2 separate regions of the Homo sapiens genome follow, and region 2 is linked to region 1. Evidence: promoter capture Hi-C in 16 types of primary human blood cells and fetal thymus (Javierre and others, 2016). All regions are on one chromosome and are shown on one strand. Each heading gives the region's core, a stretch centred on a gene start or on the middle of the fragment in contact. The rest is flanking DNA. Distances are from core to core; before and after follow the strand shown. Region 1 holds the start of NUP42 (nucleoporin 42). Region 2 has its middle 23 kb from the start of STEAP1B-AS1.

Region 1 (4,077 bases), core at 285-2,784:
GATCATGGGGCATTAGGTCTGCAACATAGTCTCAAATGGTTCAGGAAAAAAGTTCTTTGTACTGTTATTTGTAACTTTTCCATAAATTTGTTTCAAAATAAATGAATTGCATTGATTAAAGAAAATAAAAAACTAGTTTGGACAAGTAGTTCCCGTCCTGTAGATTCTGCTGTCTTCAAAATCCAAACAAATTACATGAGCAAGAATGATGGCTCACTCCCAGCTCAATAATCCTAAAACCACCAGCACAAACCTGTAATCCAACAAAGTCAGATCTATTGACTTATTGCAATCAAGAAGACTGCACACCAGAGGAGCTGTGGTGTGTCTCACCGTACAAAATAAAAGGTAGTTATTGTATGTTTTGGCGGGGAGAGTGAAGTTTAGGTGAAATTTAAATGAAATCTCAAAGCATAGCTGTGTGTAAAGGCATTAACATCAGGTCTGGACGAGAATTGAATGTAGGGCATGTTTCCTTGGAAACTGCAAAGTTAAGAAAATACAGAATGTTTTCAGAACCGTTTATCTGAAGCTCTACACCTGGATAGAAATTGAGGCTGCTTCTCTGCGTCAAAGAGACTTAGATCCTCCAGGCAAGGATGGGACTTTTCACTCGTTCTGATATAATTTCAAATAGCAACGTTTATGTGGACTTGAAAGAACAAGGTTTCGGCCAGACGCGGTGGCTCACACCTGTAATCGCAGCACTTTGGGAGGCGGACGCGGGCGGATCACGAGGTCAGAAAATAGAGACCATCCTGGCTAACACGGTGAAACCGTGTCTACTAAAAATACAAAAAAATTAGCCGGGCGTGGTGGCGGGCACCTGTAGTCCCAGCTACTCGGGAGGCTGAGGCACGAGAACGGCATGAACCTTGGAGGCAGAGCTTGCCTCCAAGCTCTGCCACTGTACTCCAGCCTGGGCGACAGAGCGAGACTCCGTCTCAAAAAAAAAAAAAAAAAAGAAGAAATAACAAGGTTTCTCAGTGTGTAGTAAGAATGTACTTAAGTGGTAATACTTTTCCGTTGCAGCATGTCCTAAAAGAAACATTGTTTCCTCTTAACGTCGTCTGGCTTTATTTGACTCTGTTATCCATCCAGATGAAAGGCTAGGCAGTTTGTTACTTTCTCAGCCCAAGCTAAGTTTTACCGTCTCAGCAAGAACGACTCAGTCTCTCAAATCATAGCTAATTCTCCTCTGAGGGCCTTGCTGAAGTTCTGCGTTTGCTTGCTCCGCTTTCCTCTCATTTTGGACCTCCAGCCTTCCTGTAGTCCGAGGCCCTGCACCGGGGTCAAACGCGCCTCCGGTCTTCACGTAACCGTTCAAGCATCCCTCCTTCCCAGGACACACTCAAAGCGTCAGAGCGGTCCGCTCTTCTCAAGTCCTATTGGCTCAAGTCCATGCGTCTCATGGCACTGCCGGGTGAGAGGCGGAAAAAGGCCTTCCCAGGCGCGAGAAGATGACGTCACAGTAGCCCGGCCGGGCGCCGAGGTTGCCTTAGGGCTCTCTGCCCAGTAACAGGCATCGAACGGTGCAGACTGAAGACGCCCTCCGTCAGCGACGCCGTCGCAATGGCCATTTGTCAATTCTTCCTTCAAGGCCGGTGCCGCTTTGGAGATCGGTGCTGGAACGAACATCCCGGTGCTAGGGGTGCAGGAGGAGGACGGCAGCAACCGCAGCAGCAGCCTTCAGGTGACTCTCCTCTGAATCCTCCGCGGTAACCGAGCCGGGAAGGGTCCGCCGGCGGGGACCGGGCGTCCCGCGTGTTTCCCGCTGCTGGTGACCCCAACGTGCCCGCGTCGCGGCCTTGCCGGCCCTACTGGGCCCTGCACAACGTTTTTAAACCGAGGGTTTTATCTACATATTATTCATGTGGTCCGTTTTTATTGAGCTTCTGAGGACCTGGGTTTGGGCCTGGATGCTTGTGCGAAACTGAGTTTTTAAATCGGAAGTACCTATCGAAACTACCTTGTAGGTAAATGCCGGAATTGAATATAATTTTTACTAAGTTGTTTTTTCGAGGGTGAGGCTAGCAGCTTGGGTCAGAATCAGGACTTCATTTTGGAGAAGTCGTGGACTTCTTTGAAAAAATCTAATAAAACCGGCCGGGCGGTGGCTCACGCCTGTAATCCCAGCACTTTGGGAGGCCGAGGCGGGCGGATCACGAGGTCAGGAGTTTGAGACCAGCCTGACCAACATAGTGAAACACCGTCTTTACTAAAAATACCAAAAAAAAAAAAAAAAAAAAAAATAGCCGGGCGTGGTGGCGCGCGCCTGTAATCCCAGCTACTCATGAGGCTGAGACAGGAGAATCGCTTGAACCCGGGAGGTGGAGGTTGCAGTGGGCCGAGATCGTGCCACTGCACTCCAGCCTGGGCGACAGAGCGAGACTATCAAAAAAAAAAAAAGAAAGAAAGAAAAGAAAAAAAGAAAATCTAATAAAACCTATAGAGCCATACCGCAAAAATGCACCTGCTCATAAATTTGGGGTGAAATTGGGAATGTGGGACGCCCAGTTAAGGGCTATCCGGGAGGTGAGGAAAGGAGATGCGGGGGCCACGTTGATCTAGTCCCTGGGCCTAGATCATTGTCAAAGCTTTTTATCTTCAAGGAAAGGAGAGATTAGACATGAAACCTTAGAACAACACAAGATTTTTAAAGATCGGGTTAATAATTCGGTGCTGTCTCCCTTCCTTCCCCTCCTTTAGGGCTATTCATCTGACCTTTATTTTTTTATTTTATTTTGAGACGGAGTCTTGCTCTCTCAGTCAGGCGGCTCACTGCGACCTCCGCCTCCCAGGCTCAAGCGATTCTTATGCCTCAGTCTCCCGAGTAGCTGGGATTACGGGTGCCCGCCACCATGCCCTTGATAATTTTTGTATTTTTAGTAGAGACAGGGTTTTGCCATTTTGGCCATACCGGTCTCGAACTCGTGACCTAAGGTGATACTCCCGCTTCCGTCTTTCAAAGTGCTGGGATTACAGGCGTGAGCGACCGCGGCGGGCCTCATCTAACCTTTAAACCTTGTATTGCGTGATGGTTTCACGTCTGATCCCACTTCAGGGAAGACAGTCCTTTTATTTCCTCCACAATTAATCTAGTGAAATATTTCAGACCGAAAATTAGGACTCATGTCTGATGAATGTGAGTGTAAACAAAATTTGGCAGACAAATTGTATTTAGCTCCCAGAAACAAATGAATGTTTCTGGAATTATAAGTATGAAGACCAAAAGCAATGTAAAAAAAAAAAAAAAAAAAAAAAAGGAGGAAGTGAGTTTCTTCAGTTGTATCATCCCCCAGTGAATTTGGAACTTTAGAAGAAGAAGATACCATTAACTTCTACTTGAGGGATCTGGTCTAGCAATCTCCACTTTTTTTTTTTTTTTTTTTAGGGTAGTTTAGAGTTGCAGGATGAACTTTCACAACTGGGCATGTGTGTCATTCTAACTTTTAATATAATTAATGGCTTATCTCTTTATTCAGTCAGAAACAAGATGAATTACCTTAATCTTGGCCCCAACTAGGAAGTGATGAGTAAATGAGATTGCTAAAATGATTTTAAAAAACAAAACAAAACCAATATATAAAGAGAGGAGAGAATCTTTTTGGCTCATTTTGATATTTATGAAATATTGGAAAGCTGGTAGAGGAACTACATGCATTCTGTACACATGTAAATACCATGTATAATCTCTCTGTGAAAATAGGTGTGTAGGTGTTTGCCCAGAGAAAAGACTGCGTCAAATAGACTTAAGCATCTGTACAAAAACAGAGGGTAGAATGTAATCTTTCATATTCGAGAAACTTTAATTCAATGTCCATTTTTCAGCCTTTACTACAGTATAGGGCCTGGTGGGGGAGCAAAGAATGATAAAAACCCAAGTTTTTATCCTGAAGGAGTTTATGATTTATGATGCATGCCTTCTGTCAACTTTTAACTATCAAGCAGTTGTTCATTTAATAAGCTTTGTCAGCTGAATTTAGTAATATATCACTATTTTTCTATATTATTTTCTTCTCAATCTCAAACAAAAATGCAATTGGCCACTATGTGATTTGTTGATATTACAACCTA
Region 2 (4,209 bases), core at 1,678-4,177, 600 kb before region 1:
CCTTGTGTGACCCCACCATCTTGGCCCTCCTGGGAACTCATGCAGTGACTGAGGATGCACAACTAACCAGGACAGACCCAGAGAAATGAATGGGAGAGCTCTCAAACTCCATCTGGTACAAGGATTCATGTTCCTTTGAAGTTGGTCCTTTGCTCTGCAGATACTTGGACTTCAAGGGTGTGTTACAGGGATGAAGTTGTTTGCAGTAAACATGGATGCACCAACAGAACCTGTTCCCAAGTTTCTGATGGAAGCCAGAGGCTCCACACAGGGATGTGCTTCAAATGCATATCCCTTGGTTAGCTTCACATGCTAACCAAGATTGCTTTGCCCCCATACCACAAAGATTCTGTGTTGGAGTCAAAGAGCTGTAACTCTGTAAGTACTTCAAAGCATTTCAAAAACCCTAAAGGGCAGTGTGTATGTATATTTACCCAGCACAGTGAAGGCAAAAACCACACTCGTGAATATTTTTAGCATTTGGGGCTGTCAGAAGAGCTGGGCCCTTGGCTAAATATATCCAGGCAGTTTCCCTACATTACTAGCAGGGTTTGTTTTCAATTCCTATTTCCTTCAAACAGCAGTCATATTGAAGGAAATAAGCACTGTAATAATAAATACCTCTTTCTGCATCATAAGTTATTATGGAAGTTTTTCCTATGTTTATTTTCTCTATAATTCCTATAAATAATAGGAATAAATAAAAAATAAAAGTGCCTATAAATCGTGCTCCTAATATGAATTTTTATTGGTAGGATCTTCTGTGAAGATTCAGAGATGTGGGCCACCAGTTAACATAAGAAGTAGATGCAATTTCTTACAACCATTAACTAAGTCCTCTTTATACTTCATACATGTGTTAGCTAATTGAACTCTCTAACTAAACGCTGATCTATCACTATCTTTTTCAGAAAGAATGAGAATCATCTAAGGTATCTCAATGATTAATTACAAATGACAATATCTAACACACATTAAATGCTCAGTGTGATGAGTGTTTTACATGCAATATATCACTGAATTCTCAAAACAACTTTGTCAGGTAAACCCTATTATTTTTATTGTATAGAAAAAAATAAACTTTCTCTGTATGTTCACATTCAACACACTTCTGTGAGCAGGTATGTGGGTTTTTTCCCCACACATTCAATTCTCCTGTGGACATCAATTGGATGTCCTAAAATTCCATTCAATTCTGATTTTAATCAGAGTTGGCATAGACCTCACCAGTTAATGACTTAATCCCACAAGACTGTTCCCCATTTCAGATGCCAATCACAAGTCCTAGGTGTCACCTGTACTTCTGATGGACTGGCTATTAATCAGAGTTGTCACAACACCCTCCTCAGGTTTGAATATTTGCTAGGAAGGGTCACAGAACACAGAGGAGCACTAACTTACCATTACCAGTTTATTGTGTTAAAAAATAGGATAAAGGATATAGATGAACAGCCAGATGAAGAAATACAGAGGGTGAGGTCCAAAAGGGGCCGGGTGCAGGAGCTTCTGTCCTCGTGGAATTGAAATGCACCATGCTCCCAGCTTCTGTGTATGCTTCCCAACCCGGAAGCTCCCTGAAACTCATAGTTGAGGGATTTTTATATAGGAATGACCAATTAGTAACTCAATCTCCAGGCCCTCTTTCCTCCCTGGAGGATAGAAAATGGGGCTGAAAATTCCAACCTTCTAATCATGGCTTAATCTTTCTGATGACCAGCCCCCTTCTAGGAGTCTAGCAAGAGTTGTCTTATTCGAACAAAAGAAGCTCCTATTACCCAGAAAATTCCAAAGAATTAGAAGCTTTGTGTCAGGAATCAGGATCACAGACTAAATATTAGAACAATAATGTACCTAGCACCTCTATCATTCAGGAAATTTAAAAAGTTTAGGAACTCTGTGGTGGTGGCACAGTTATATACATATTTGGTGGCACGGGCCATATATATTTTTTATTGTTACCTTATCATCACCATTTTATAGGTGAGGAAACTAAGACACAGTATGTTTTAGTAACTAGCCCAAAGTCTCGCAGCAGGTAACTGGAGGAATTGGGTTCCAACCAACATCCATCTGACAGCAAAGCCAAAAGTCATAACCACTGTGCTATTCAAACTCGCTTCAGACATCTATACCACAATGGAGTGTGGGCACAGCAGCGGTTTGCAAGTAGGGCAGCTCCCAACTTGTTTGTCCAACATACTGATAACATACATATTTGGTCATTGAGATATTGTGATTTATAATAAGAAATATTATAATATAATCTTAATATAATCTCAGAAGGGTATCTTTTGTATTCTAAGGTGAGATGACTAACGGCTGGGGCCTCCTGGAGAGCCTTGGAGGGAGGCTAGCTGCCAGGGGAAACAAGTATGTAATTAGAGGGTTAGAACTTTCAGCATCAGCCTCTCACCTTCAGGGAGGGGCTGAAAGTTGAGTTAATCACCACGGCCAATGATTTAAATCAATCATGCCCTACATAGTGAAATCTCCATAAAAACCCAATAGGACAGGGCTCAAAGAGCTTCTGGGTTTGTGAATAAGAATCCGTCCATGTGCTGGGAGGCTGACACACTCCAGCTCCACAGGGACAGAAGTTCCCGTGCCCTGCACCATTCCGGACCTCACCCTGTGTATCTCTTAATCTGACTGTTTATCTGTAGCCTTTGTAATAAACCAGTAAACATTAAGTGTTTCCCAGCCCTGTGAGCTGTTCTAGTAAATGACTGAACCTGAGAAGGGGGTCATGGGAACCCTTGATTCAGAGTACAGATCACAAGCTGGGACTTACTACTGGCACTGGAGTAGGGGCAGTCTTGTGGGGTCTGTGCTCTGTATTCATCAGTGCAGCCTGGAGTTGGACATCCAGTTGGTGTCTGCAGAGAACTGGAGAATTATTCCCACACAGAATAACCCCTATACATTTGGCAGCCAGAAGTGAAGTGTGAGTGTAAGCATGGTGAAAAATACAGTTTGTTTTTCTCAGTCACTCAGCTGCAGAACCTTCCTCTACCCTCAGGCCCCATACTGTTGACATTTCTGGAAAGGGAGCCCCTTTCAGACTGCATTCCTCCCACTAGAGGACTCTGTCCTTCCCCAATTTTCTCTCTCTCTCTCTCTCTCTCTGTCTCTCTCTCTCTGTCTCTCTCTGTCTCTCTCTCTGTCTCTCTCTCTGTCTCTCTCTCTCTCTCTCTCTCTCTCTCTCCCCTCTCTCCCCTCTCTCCCCTCTCTACCCAGTGCAGCTCCTCTCCTGGGCCCCTCTCCTCCCAATCACCTGCATGATTACCAATTACCAGCCCTCCAGTTTACTTCCATTAAGGATTCCATCGTCCAGTCTGCAGTCTGCTCTCCAAAGGCATGATTTTCCATACAAAAAAAAGTGTTAGTTTCAAACAACCAGCTTACCAACAAGCTCTATCCATTCGAATGGTCTGTTCAAGACTATTTTATAGTGAAAATTGCTATCTAGCCACATCTCTCCAAATCTTACAGTGAAAACTGTGCTTTTGATATATGTCAGGATGAAGTTAAGTCAAAGTTTCCTGTTTCACTTTTTACTGTACTTATGTAAATCAATCATTAGTGGACTCTTAAATGGTTTCCTAATGCCAGAAATGATTAGTCACTCAATGTGTTAATGGCACATTTTGTGAAATCTTTTCCAATGCAAAAACCACACAGCATCTGGGCTTCCTGTTCTGTATTTCTTTCTGGCCTTCACTATCTTGAAATTATCTGGTGCATATTTTTTATTTCCGCTTATTTATTGGCAGTATTTTCATTCTCTACACTTTTCTTCTCCTTATATTCTTTTAGGCTAGTCTTTGAAACGTCAGTCTCTGTCCATTGAAACTAAAATAAGAAAGAAGGAGAAAAGGAAATTGATGTCTTTCAAGTTGTAATAGTAATATGTTTCGTTTATAAAAATCAATTTTTTTTACCAGTAAAACATTAACTTTTGGCCTTCATTAATCAGAAAAGAAAACTGGATCAGTCTGAAAATGCCTTTCTCAAATAAGTCATACCATCCTTAGAACAGTGATGCAGCAGTTCTCAAGCTTGAGAACACATGGGAATCACCTGGAAAGCTTGTAAAAACACAAGTTGCTGGGTCCCATCCCTAGAGTTTCTGATTTAATAGGTCTGCGGTGGTTCCCTGAGAACTGACATTTCCAACATGTCCCAGGTGAAGTTGATGCTGCTGGTCGG

Evidence for each region. The method cuts DNA at HindIII sites, captures the fragments that hold promoters and counts their contacts. A CHiCAGO score of 5 or more calls a contact.
Region 2: a fragment that was not itself captured here is called in contact with the fragment with the promoter of NUP42 in region 1 in 1 of 17 cell types (monocytes); the score reaches 5.6 in monocytes.

The regions. Positions count from the first base shown.
Region 1 is chr7:23,180,514-23,184,590 of GRCh38, forward strand. It overlaps NUP42 (nucleoporin 42), which reads left to right and starts at 1,535. Exons shown (of 7, transcript NM_007342.3): 1 at 1,535-1,693. The coding sequence starts at 1,573. RefSeq lists enhancers at 1,130-1,729, 1,830-1,899. The HindIII fragment of the contact is 4,881 bases long and covers 1-2,595 here.
Region 2 is chr7:22,583,927-22,588,135 of GRCh38, forward strand. No RefSeq gene overlaps it. Among named protein-coding and RNA genes, the nearest start is that of STEAP1B-AS1, 23 kb to the left of the region's middle. The HindIII fragment of the contact is 2,258 bases long and covers 1,799-4,056 here.